Regions from separate parts of the Homo sapiens genome. Here region 2 is linked to region 1. The links are contacts of gene promoters, found by promoter capture Hi-C in blood cells and fetal thymus (Javierre and others, 2016). All regions are on one chromosome and are shown on one strand. The core of a region is centred on a gene start or on the middle of the fragment in contact, and the rest is flanking DNA. Distances in the headings are between cores, read along the strand shown. Region 1 holds the start of MBLAC1 (metallo-beta-lactamase domain containing 1). Region 2 overlaps PILRB (paired immunoglobin like type 2 receptor beta).

Evidence for each region. The method cuts DNA at HindIII sites, captures the fragments that hold promoters and counts their contacts. A CHiCAGO score of 5 or more calls a contact.
Region 2: a fragment that was not itself captured here is called in contact with the fragment with the promoter of MBLAC1 in region 1 in 1 of 17 cell types (total CD8 T cells); the score reaches 5.8 in total CD8 T cells.

The regions. Positions count from the first base shown.
Region 1 is chr7:100,124,227-100,130,038 of GRCh38, reverse strand. MBLAC1 (metallo-beta-lactamase domain containing 1) reads right to left here and starts at 3,072. Exons shown (of 2, transcript NM_203397.3): 1 at 2,975-3,072; 2 at 1,544-2,671. The coding sequence starts at 2,643. The coding sequence ends at 1,843. It overlaps CNPY4 (canopy FGF signaling regulator 4), which reads right to left. Exons shown (of 6, transcript NM_152755.2): 5 at 5,408-5,525; 6 at 4,531-5,314. The coding sequence ends at 5,151. It also overlaps a transcript of TAF6 not described here. RefSeq lists silencers at 2,163-2,642, 2,733-2,852 and enhancers at 3,053-3,122, 3,833-4,502. The HindIII fragment of the contact is 8,479 bases long and covers 1-4,883 here.
Region 2 is chr7:100,367,077-100,372,558 of GRCh38, reverse strand. PILRB (paired immunoglobin like type 2 receptor beta) reads right to left here. Exons shown (of 4, transcript NM_178238.4): 4 at 4,728-5,210. The coding sequence ends at 5,182. It overlaps STAG3L5P-PVRIG2P-PILRB (STAG3L5P-PVRIG2P-PILRB readthrough), which reads right to left. Exons shown (of 17, transcript NR_036570.1): 17 at 4,728-5,210. It also overlaps a transcript of PILRA not described here. Among named protein-coding and RNA genes, the nearest start is that of PILRA, 3.7 kb to the left of the region's middle. RefSeq lists an enhancer at 1,404-2,155. The HindIII fragment of the contact is 2,485 bases long and covers 1,273-3,757 here.

The sequences.
Region 1 (5,812 bases), core at 1,823-4,322:
GGCACAAGAATCGCTTGAACCCAGGAGGCGGAGGTTGCAGTGAGCTGAGACTGTGCCACTGTATTCCAGCCTGGGCAACAAGAGTGAAACTCCGTCTCAGAAAAAAAAAAAAAATGTAGCTGGGCACGGTGGCAGGCACCTGTAATCCCAGCTACTCGGAAGGCTGAGGCAGAGAAGTGCTTGAACCCAGGAGGCGGAGGTTGCATTGACCGAGATCGAGCCACTGCACTCCTCCAACCTGGGCAACAGAGTGAGACTCTGTGGAAAGAAAGAAAGAGACAGAGAGAGAGAGAGAAAGGAAAGAAAGAAAGAAAGATAATAATAGTACTTAGCTCAGAGCTGCGATGAGGAACAAATAAGTTAATGGATGGGGCTGGGCACGGTGGCTCACGCCTGTAACCCCAGCAGTTTGGGAGGCTGAAGGCTGAAGTGGAAGGATCACTTAAGCCCAGGAGTTCCAGGTCACAGTGAGTTTTGATTGCACCACTACACTCCAGCCTGGGTTACAGAGCAAGACTCAGTCAATAATAATAATAATAATAATGTACAGAAAGTGCTTAGAGCAAGTAGAACTGGTCTGCTCTGTGAGCTCTTAGGATCTCACTTCAGGCATCTGTTGCTGTTTCACCCCGCCCTACTCTGTGCCAGAGGTTGTCCAAGGTGCTGGAGGTCCCAAGCATAGGAGAGCCAGGCAGGTGTGGCCCCATCCCATGCCCATGGGAGCAATCCGGCTGCTGAAAGAAAACAGATATTAAATCATCACACTTGGGGAAGGGCACAGTGGCTCATGCCTGTAATCCCAGCAAAAAAAAATGCAGAGGGCCTGAGAAGGTAGGATCTTTTTAGGTCAGGAGTTCAAGACCAGCCTGGGCAACACAGTGAGACCATTTCTGAAAAAAAATGAAAAAAAAAAATTAGCTGATAGCCAGGCATGGTGGTTCATACCTGTAACCTCAGCACTTTGGGAGGCTGAGATGGGCAGATCACTTGAGGCCAGGAGTTTGAGACCAGTGTGGCCAACATGGTAAGACCCTTTCTCTACTAAAAATATAAAAATTAGCTGGACATGGTAGTGTGAGCCTGTAATCCCAGCTGCTGGGAAGGCTGAGGCACAAGAACCAATTGAACCCAGGAGGCAGAGGTTGCAGTGCAGTCTGCAGTACAAGATTGTGCTATTGCATTGCAGCCTGTGGGGACAGAGTGAAACCGTGTTTCAAAAAAAAAAAAAAATTAGTGGGGCATAGTGGCACTTGCCTGTCATCCCAGCTACTTGGGAGGCTGAGGCAGGTGGATGGCTTAAGCTGGAGGCTGCAGTGAGCTATGACTGCACAACTGCACTCTAGCCTGTGTGACAAAAAAATATGAACAAATACATAAGTCAGGTGACTAAGGGGTCATCTTTATGCCCTGTACCTTCTCTCAGCAACCTCCATCCTATAAGAAAGGGGCAATTGGCCAAAGTATGCCTCTGCTGTAGTTGTAGATTACCATGTTTGCACGATTATCATTGTCAATGCTTCACATTTACACTAGGGCACTATGATTTTCAATGCAGTTTCCATTTTTATTTTGGAGGCCCCTCCCACGAACCTTCTCCCATTTTACTGAGGCCCAGGGAGAATGCACAGGGAGCTGAGCCCCTCCTTTGATCTTAGTTTGGTGGCAGAGACAGGCAGTGATACTGACGATGTGATGGCAGTGTCAGGTGCACTCTGTCTTCACTAGAAAACTGGCCTCCTGGAAGGGCTGGAAGCTCCCACCCTTGACTGCTCTGACTCTGTCTCCAGCAGCTCTTCGCTGTTAGGGCTTCCCTGACAAGAGTGCAGTCCCTCTCGAGGCTGATTAGTGCAGGGCGGGCTCCTCGTCTCCGACCACCGGCTCCTGCTGGCTGTTCCCTCCACCCTCCGTCTCGGGCTGCGAGGCTTCCCTTAACACTCGAAAGGGGGGCCCGTGACCAGGTACGACCACGTCGGCAACGACCAGGACCCTCTTCCGGCTCCGCTCCTGGGCTGCGGGGTCTTCACTCAGTGCCTGCCACGAATCCTCGTCCCCATCTCGCTCAAACACATCTCCCGCCACCACCACGGTGCCCAGAGCCGTGCCGGCCACCACCACGCTCACGTCGCGCTGGCCCCCGTGGCCCGGCGTGGCCCACACCTCGAGCCCCGGGCCCAGGCGCAGGGGCTGCCCCTCACCCAGCCCGTGGGGCAGGTAGCGGCCTCCGGGAAGGCAGAAGTCGTGCGAGACCAGCAGAGCCGCGCCTGGGAACAGCCCCAAGTTCCCGATGTGATCCGAGTGCCCGTGGGTCCCCACCACTAGCGTCACGTCTCCCGGGGCCACGCCCTGCCCCGCCAGCGCCCCCAGCAGCGCCTCCCGAGCCCAGGGGCCCCCGGTGTCCACCAGGATGGGGCCACGGGCCGCCTCCTCCAGGGCGGCCTCTGCGCCGCCACTCCCGCGCGGGGACTCTCGGTGGCTGGAGGCCGGGCCCCGGGTCTGGGGTAGGACCAGGGTCACGGAGCCGTCGGCGCGCACGGCATCGCCCACACCCTCTGGCTCCGCGTAGCCCTGCAGCAGAACCACCACAGAGTAGGGGTCGCCGGGCACCAGCAGAGGGGATGCCCCGCACAGCGGCTCGGTCCGCATGAGGCTGCTCCTGGCAGGGAGGGACGGGCTGGGGAGAAAGGAAATGGAGCAGTGGGCGACCGTCCTGTCCCTCCGCGATCCCCCACCCGCGCTCGGCCCCGCCACTGCCCCTAAGCCTCGGTTCTCTGCCACCCGCCTCCCATTAAGTTGGTATCACCCTCAACCCCTGCCCAAAATGGTATCGCCCAGACTCCCTTCACACTTGGGCCCGCCCCTCCCTCGGCGTCCTCGGCCCCCGCCCCATTCCGTTCGCGGTACGTACGTCCTTGCCCGTCACCCTCCAAAGGCTATCCTTTATGTTTCCCTCCATCGAATCCTAGCCGCGCTCTACCTTGGGCCTCTGCTAGGTCTTGCCTCACTCGAAGAAAGCGCAGAAATCGAAAACGCGGGTGAGAGTTTGTCCTCTGCGGTTCCCGTGTACCCAGATATGGCGGCCGAAGCGGCGCCGCGGAGGTAGCTGTAGTTCCGGCGCCTTCACCGTGTGCCCGAGGAGGCTGCCTGGCTGGGCTCCAGCCTCCTGGCGGTTCTCCGCTCCGCAACCCCAGCAACTTCTTTGCACTGCAGAATTTTGAAGCGCCATTAGCTTTGAGGAGGGTTCATGCTCAGTTGCCCAGGCAGGAGTGCAGTGGCGCGATCATACCTCACTGCAGCCTCAACCTCCTGGGCTCATGTGATCCTCCCGCCTCAGCGTCCCGAGTATCTGGGACCACAGATGCGCACCACCAAGCCCAGCTAAGGTTTCTATTTTTTCTTTCTCTTTTTTTTTGGAGACACGGTCTAGTTCTGTTGCCAGGACTGGTCTGGAACTCCTGGGCTCCAGCGATCCTCCAGTCTTGGTCTCCTGAAGTGCTAGGATTACAGGTGTGAGCCACCGCGCCTGGTCTTTTTTTCTTTTGAGACAGTCTCGCCCTGTCGCCCAGGCTAGAGTGCAGGGGCACCATCATAGCTCGCCCCAGTCTTGAACCCCTGGTTCTAGCGATCCTCCTGCTTCAGCCTCCTGGAGTGCTGGGAATACAGGCGTGCACGCCCCTCTAAATTTTTTTTGGTTTTTTTTGAGACGGAGTCTTGTTCTGTCGCCCAGGCTAGAGTGCAGTGGCGTGATCTCAGCTCACTGCAACCTCCGCCTCCTGGGTTCAAGCGATTCTCCTGTCTCAGCCTCCCGAGTAACTGGGATTACAGGCGCCCACCACCATGCGTGGCTTTTTTTTTTGAGACGGAGTCTCGCTCTATCACCCAGGCTGGAGTGCAGTGGCACGATCTTGGCTCACTGCCAGCTCCGCCTCCCGGGTTCCCGCCATTCTTCTGCCTCAGCCTCCCGAGTAGCTGGGACTGCAGGCGCCTGCCACCACACCCGGCTAATTTTTTGTATTTTTAGTAGAGACGGGCTTTCACCGTATTAGCCAGGATGGTCTCGATCTCCTAATCTTGTTATCCACCCGCCTTGGCCTCCCAAAGTGCTGGGATTACAGGCGTGAGTCACCGCGCCCAGCCGCCCGGCTAATTTTTGTATTTTTGGTAGAGACGAGGTTTCTCCATGTTGGCCAGGCTGCTCTCGAACTCCTACACTCAGGTGATCCGCCTGCCTCGGCCTCCCAAAGTGCTAGGATTACAGGTGTGAGTCACTGCGCCCAGCCTCCAGGCTGGTCTTGACCTTTTGGACTCAAGTGATCCTCCCATCTCCACCTCTGCAGTAACTGGGACTACAGGCGCTGCACCACCAGCCCTGCAGTCTTCTTTGTGTGTGTGTGTGTGTGTAGAATTGGGGTTTCACTATGTTGCTCAGGCTGGAGCTTGAGCTTAACAAGACAGCGGCCATTCTGGGTGCTGCCTCATCGACCAGCTAGCTATGTGTGCCCGGCTGTTGTTTGAAACTTTGGGCCCAGCTAGTTTTTAGAAAAAAAGAAAAAAGTTTAATAGCGATATAGAAAATTGAGCACCTATAAAACTATATGGTGGGCTCTGGGTTACATTGAGCTTAAGTAGACCAAGTATCTATCCCACCTAAATTATCAGCAACTCCAGGCCATGACCCAGTGTCCCATTCTCCTTCACGGTTTGCTGGTGTGTAGCCTCCTGGATACAGGCAATGTATATAGATCGCAGAGAATGTCCGTTCTGGCCTCTTCCTTGGAAGGGTCTAAAAACAGACCTTAAGGAGCTAAGTGACTTCCCCAAAGCCCACAGCTCCAGTGCCACTGCTGACTTTTGGGTGGGGGTGGGATCAGTTAAAGAGGAAAGCTTTCAGTACTGTCAGCACATACACCTGCCAATTAAGGGGCTGGATAGAGTTCATCTCTAGGAGCAGGACCTCCACCCCCACCCTCCACCCCAGAAGCCATGTCATGCTGTTTCACCAGGATCTTGCCTGAGGTTAGATGGGAGAGAACAGCTACAAGCTTGGGTGGAGTCACTCATAAACACACCCTGAAAGCTGTGGAGCAGGGAGAGTGCAGGCTTTAGAGGGCTCTCCATGATCCCTTCCCCTCCTGGGGGCTCAAAGGCAAGGGTCAAAGATCTTCTCGGTCAAGTTTGGGGTGGCTTCCTGTCTTGGTCATCTTGTCTCCCCCTTCCTCTTCCTCCTCTTCCTCCTCCTCCTCCTGCTCTTCCTCCCCTTCTGTTTTCTCTTCCCCATCTGTGATCTCCTTTCCAGTCCAAGTTTCCTGTAGACATGCTAGATCGGATGACAGAAAACAATTTAGATATTAGTCCTGGAGGCAGGGGAGGCTATGGCTTGGCAGGAGAGGAGTTCAACCCTTACGCTTACCAGTTTCAGCAGCTGGGAGCACATGACCTTCACAGAGAAAATTTTGTAGGGGCTGCTCCTGATGGTGGAAGTACCAGTCTCCCACAATGTCTTCAAACTCCTCCAACATGGTCTCACACTGGTCAAGTAGAAGGGCCAGAAGAGTATCTGCTCTGGAGGGATTTGGGATCCCGCCTGTCTTCTCTCCCTGCTCAACCTGACTGATTTTGGAGAGGCAGGTAGCCAGGAAGCTAAGTTTGGCCTACTAGATGTGCAATCCTCATTCATTCAACAAACATTTACCAGCACCTATTCTGCCAAGTAGATTATTAAACTCTTGAGTCTCAGCTCCTTGCCTGTAAAATATGTATGGTAATTGCACCTACCACATCAGGCTGTTAAGGGTAAAATGAGGCTACAGATGCA
Region 2 (5,482 bases), core at 1,266-3,765, 240 kb before region 1:
GCCCGGGGGTGGTCACTGGAGCAGGGAGCTTTGGTGGTGCACAGGGCTCCCTCCGTAGGAGGCTCTGCCCACCCTCTCCAGGGTGAGGTGGCATCAGTTGAGGGGCCGTGGGGGAAGACAGGATTTCATCAGAGGAAGTGACATCAGCCTTCTTGAGACAGAAGCAGGCAGGGACGGGCCTCCCTTCTCTTAGTCTCTTCCCTGGTCCTAGTAGGCTCCTCTGTGCTTCCCAGGGCCAGCCAGGCCGGCCCGCCCTCCCTCCCTTTACAGGCCTGAGGAAACAGGTTCCCCATGCTCAGGAAACCCCTCCGTCTGAGCCAGGCCCTAAACACCTCATTCTCTGCTTCACAACATTCTGAGGTGACACATTATCTCCATTCAACCCACAGGGAAACTGAGGGACGGGGGCTTTGGGCTGAACTGGTCACAGCTGGAAAGATGGGCTGCAGAGAGGACAAGGGACCCCCTGGCTGTCTGGGCAGGGCCTCGAGAGGGTGGCCCGCCCCACCTGAGGACCTGGCTGAAAGGTCACCTGCTTACCAGGCTGTCCAATGTGGGGGCCACATAGAACTTATAGCCAACAGCCTCTGGGTAGCTCTGGAGGGCACATGCTGCCCAATGCTGCCACGTGCAGTCTCCTTAGATGCAACATGCATGTTTATGTCACTTTCAGGCCCTGGATCCAGCTGAACCCCCATGGGAGATTCCTTCTGTGTCAGGATTTCTGCTCTGGGATGGTGTGAGGTCTCCTGGATTTGTTCATCCTCCCTCCCCCAACAGCAGTGACAGAACCTGGGACTGAGCCTGGGGCTGTGGCTCTCTCACAGACAGGGCTTCTGAGAGGAGGAGGAGGGCCTGGAGGAGGGCATGATTCCAATGTGGGCAGAGCCTAAATGCAGCCCCTTAGTGCAGGTGCTCATGGGAGAGGCGTGGGAAGTCGTGTGTGGGGAGCAGGGGCAGGGAGGGGGTAAGTACCCTGCACCGCATTATGAGAACCACTGCTTGGATGTCCCCACATTCCCCCAACAAGTATCCTACTGTCCTCACTGGCCACATCCGTCCCTGCCCCCAGCCCCTCACCTCTCCTTGGCACCCACCGTTCCTGCTTTCCTCTGATCCCAATCGACATCCCATAGGCTTTGTGGAGTTCACAAGCCAACTGTAATATTCTCACAGTAATTCAAAGGACCTAGAATAGCCAAAAGGCCTTTACAAATGAAGAATGAAGGTGGAAGATTTATAATACCTGACTTCAAGACTTGCTGTAAAGCTTCTGTAATCAGGCTGTACTGTCCTCAAGGTACTAGAGTGTCCACAGACTGGAGTGTAGGGACGCGATCACCATCACTCCTGGGCTGAAGCAATTTGCTGACCTCAGCCTCCCAAGTAGTGAAGACCACAGGCACACACCACCACACACGGCTAATTTTTTTTTTTTTTTGAGAGATGGGGTCTCACTATGTTGTCTAGGCTGGTCTCAAGTTCCTGGGCTTAAGCAATCCTCCTGCCTCGGCCTCCCTCAGTGCTGGGATGACAGGTGTGAGCCACCTCACCAAGCCCCACTGGATTGCTGATATTCTGGCATCTTGGACCTCCAAGAGCAGAGAGAGGGACTGCCCCTGCCAGAGCCAGCCAGTTGTTAGAGCTAGCAAATGACCCCTCTGAGAGTGTCCCTTTTTTTTTCTGAAACAGTCTCACTCTGCTGCCAGGCTGGAGTGCAGTGGCACGGTCTCGGCTCACTGCAACCTCCACCCCTGGGTTCAAGCGATTCTCCTGCCTCAGCCTCCCAAGTTGCTGGGATTACAAGTGCGTGCCACCATGCCCAACTAATTTTTGTATTTTTAATAGAGACGGGGTTTCACCACGTTGGCCAAGATGGTCTCCATCTCCTGACCTTGTGATCTGCCCACCTCGGCCTCCCAAAGTGCTGGGATTACAGGCTTGAGCCACGGCTCCTGGCTGAGTGTGCCTTTCATATGCAAACCAGCTAATCCAGGGCCCCAACACTGAACCAGCTCTTCTAGCTGCCTCTCACCCTTCAGAAGGCAGTATTTCTCTGCCTTCATCATCCTGGGCCAGACACCAAATAACAAATGACAGCCTCTAATCCCCAGAGCCTGCTAACGTTATTCTAACTAGCCAATCCTAAACCTGCATACCCTTCCTTGCCTTTTCCAGGGAAAGCATAACAAAGGGTCTCACCCCTGTGTTCCCTTGGCTTCCTCTACTCCCTGAGGGACCCTGGTGCTTTCCCAAGTGGCCCTGCATGGCTGTGTCTCTCGTTTCTGGGGATCTGTGAGGATACACTGCTTCCCTTATGACCCTCATTTCCATGGCCATACCTGATGGAAAGAAATGGCAGGTGCATTTTGTTTTATTATTATTATTATTTTGAGACGGAGTCTCACTCTGTCGCCCAGGCTGCAGTGCAGTGGCACCATCTCGGCTCACTGCAACCTCTGCCTCCCAGGTTCAAGCGATTCTCCTGCCTCAGCCTCCCGAGTAACTGGGACTACAGGTGCCCACCACTATGCTCACCTAATTTTTGTAGTTTTAGCAGAGATGGGGTTTCACCATGTTGGCCAGGCTGGTCTTGAACTCCTTACCTCAGGTGATCCACCTGCCTAGGCCTCCCAAAGTTGCTGAGATTACAGGCATGAACCACCGCGCCCTGCCAGCAGGTGCATTTGATTTATTTTTATTTTTTGAGACGGAGTCTCGCTCTGTCACCCAGGCTGGAGTGCAATGGTACAATCTCGGCTCACTGCAACTTCCACTTCCTGAGTTCAAGTGATTCTCCTGCCTCAGCCTCCTGAGTAGCTGGGATTACAGGCACGTGCCACCATGCCCGCCCGGCTACTTTTTGTATTTTTAGTAGAGATGGAGCTTTGCTATGTTGTTCAGGCTGGTCTCGACCTCCTGACCTTGTGATCTGCCTGCCTCAGCCTCCCAAAGTGCTGGGATTACAGGTGTGAGACACTGTGCCTGGCCCAGCAGGCGCATTTTAAAAGAGCTTTTAACTCTCTGGACAATCCCAGGAGGTAGGCAGCATCTCTGTATGGTCCTCAATTTATACAGAAAGAAACGGAGGCCCTGAGGGTGGTTCTGAGCCTAGCCTGAGGTCACATGGCCCAGGAACGTCCACTGTGGCATCAGGTCTGAGCTTGGGGCCTGTGCGGCCAACCACTTCCCCATTCAGTGACATCAGCCAGCAGTCCTCTGGGCCTCTGTGACAACCATGCTTCCCTTTTCTGTGTTGTCTTCCTTCTGCACAGGGAGGTGCTTGAGGGCTGGGGCACTGGCTGGTGTAGCTTTGGGTCCTTGTCACCCAGTGCAGTGTGCCTGTCACCCAGGGCAGTTAGTGCTGACCAAATGCGTATGGAGAGGGTGGAGGCATCTTCAAGGGGTGGGGATCAGGTGACGATCATTTTCAGTAGAGATGGGGTTTCACCGTATTGGCCAGGTTTTTTGTTTTGTCTTTTTTTTTTGAGACAGGCTCTCTCTCTGTCACCCAGGCTGGAGTACAGTGGTGCAATCACAACTCACTGCAGCCTCAGTTGCCACCTGAGGGCTCAATTGATTCTCCCACCTCAGCCTCAAAATGTGCTGGGATTACAGTCATGAGCCACTGTGCCTGGCCCAATCATGCCTTTATAATGAAGCCCATAAAAACCCAAAAGGGATGCAGAGGGCTTCTGGATAACTGAACTCATGGAGCTTCCTAGAGGGTGCAGTGCCTAGAGAAGACACGGAAGCTTTGCACCCCTTCCCCCAGGCCTCCCTCTGTGTATCTCTTATATCTGGCTGTTCATAACTATCCTTTGTAATATCCTATATCTTTATTTTGAGACGGGGTCTCGCTATGTTGCCCAGGTTGGTCTCAAACTCCTGTGCTCAAGTGAACCTCCCCCCTCAACCTCCTGAAGCACAGAGATTACAGGCATGAGCCATGGCGCCAGGCCCTATAATATCCTTTATAAGGGGACACATGTAAGTAAAGGGCTTCCCTGAGTTCTAGGTACCATTCTAGAAAATTAATTGAACCCAAGGAGGGGATCATGGGAACCTCAATTTTTATAGCCCTGTGTCAGAAGCACAGGCACCACGTGAGCTTGCGACTGGCATCTGATGCTGGGGCAGCCTTGTGGAACTGAGCCCTCAACCCGTGCGATCACAGGAAGCAGCCAATTTGCTGTAGTAGCCGTGGCCAACACACTGTCTCTGACAGTGTTCTTGCCCCTGCCCACTCCTTCTTAACGATTCCCTCTCAGCCAGGCATGGTGGCTCACGCCTGTAATTGCAGCTATTTGGGAGACTGAGGCTGGAGGATTGCTTGAGCCCAGGAGTTTGAGACCAGCCTGGACAACTTGGTGAAACTCCAGTACCACTAAAAAATACAAACATTAGCTGAGTGTGGGGGTGCACGCCTGTAATCCCAACTACTTGGGAGGCTGAGGCATGAGAATGGCTTGAACCCAGGAGGCAGAGGTTGCAGTGAGCAGAGATTGCGCCACTGCACTCCAGCCTGGGTGATGAGAGTGAGGCTCTGTCTCAAAAAAAAAAAAAAAAAAAAAAAAAGATTTCCCTTCTTAAACTTGCTTCCAACTGCTTTAAATCTGTGAGTGCCATCTGTTTCTAGTGGGGAGGCTCCCTGCATCATGACTGGACTCAGGTACTGCAGAGCAGGAAGGGGCACTTGGCAGCCATGTGGGAGATGCACAGGGAAGTGTCAGCAGCATTTCACGCTATTTATTCCCCAAAACCTTCTGCCATAGAAGACAGCCACCATACAGATTGGAAAATGTGGACGAGGAGAAAAGGGGTGTATGGTAAGCAAAATAAATTGTATTTTTCCATCCTTGGGGAGGATAAAGGAACTCTTTGCACTGCTATAATAAACAGCCCCCAAATGCCAGTGGTTTAATTCAGTGGAGTTCAGACCTCATTCCTATATCATTGCAGTGTGGATGCTCCTGGATGAAGGCTCTTGTAGGTAACTCTCCTCCAGTCGGTGATTCAGGGACCCAGCCTCCTTCTGCCTTGCGGCTTTGCCTTTTAAAGGTCCTCAGGGTGCTCTCCATGTATCTTGCCAATGGGGAACGAGTGTGGAGGACTCACAAGCGGGTCTCACATCACGTCCTCCGGGGCTAATACACATCCCTTCTCCCCACACTCTGTTGGTCAGAAGTCACTGCTTGGCGCCCTGCTACCTGCAGGAGGGGAAGTGTTTTTAGATGCAGGGCCAGGATTATTAGTGAGGCAGGCGAGGCAGTTGCTTCAGAGATCAGATTTAAGTGGGAGGTGGCAAAAACTCAGGAGAATTTGTGGCAGGCTGGGCTTGTGGGGTTCTTAGCAGCACAGTCCCTGATTTCCAAACCCGTCCCCTGCCCGCACCTGTACTCCCCACTCCCTTGGGGAGGCCCAGCACTCAGCTGGCTGGGGTTGTGGCTTTAGTCCGCTGCTGACGTGTAGGGGGACCAAC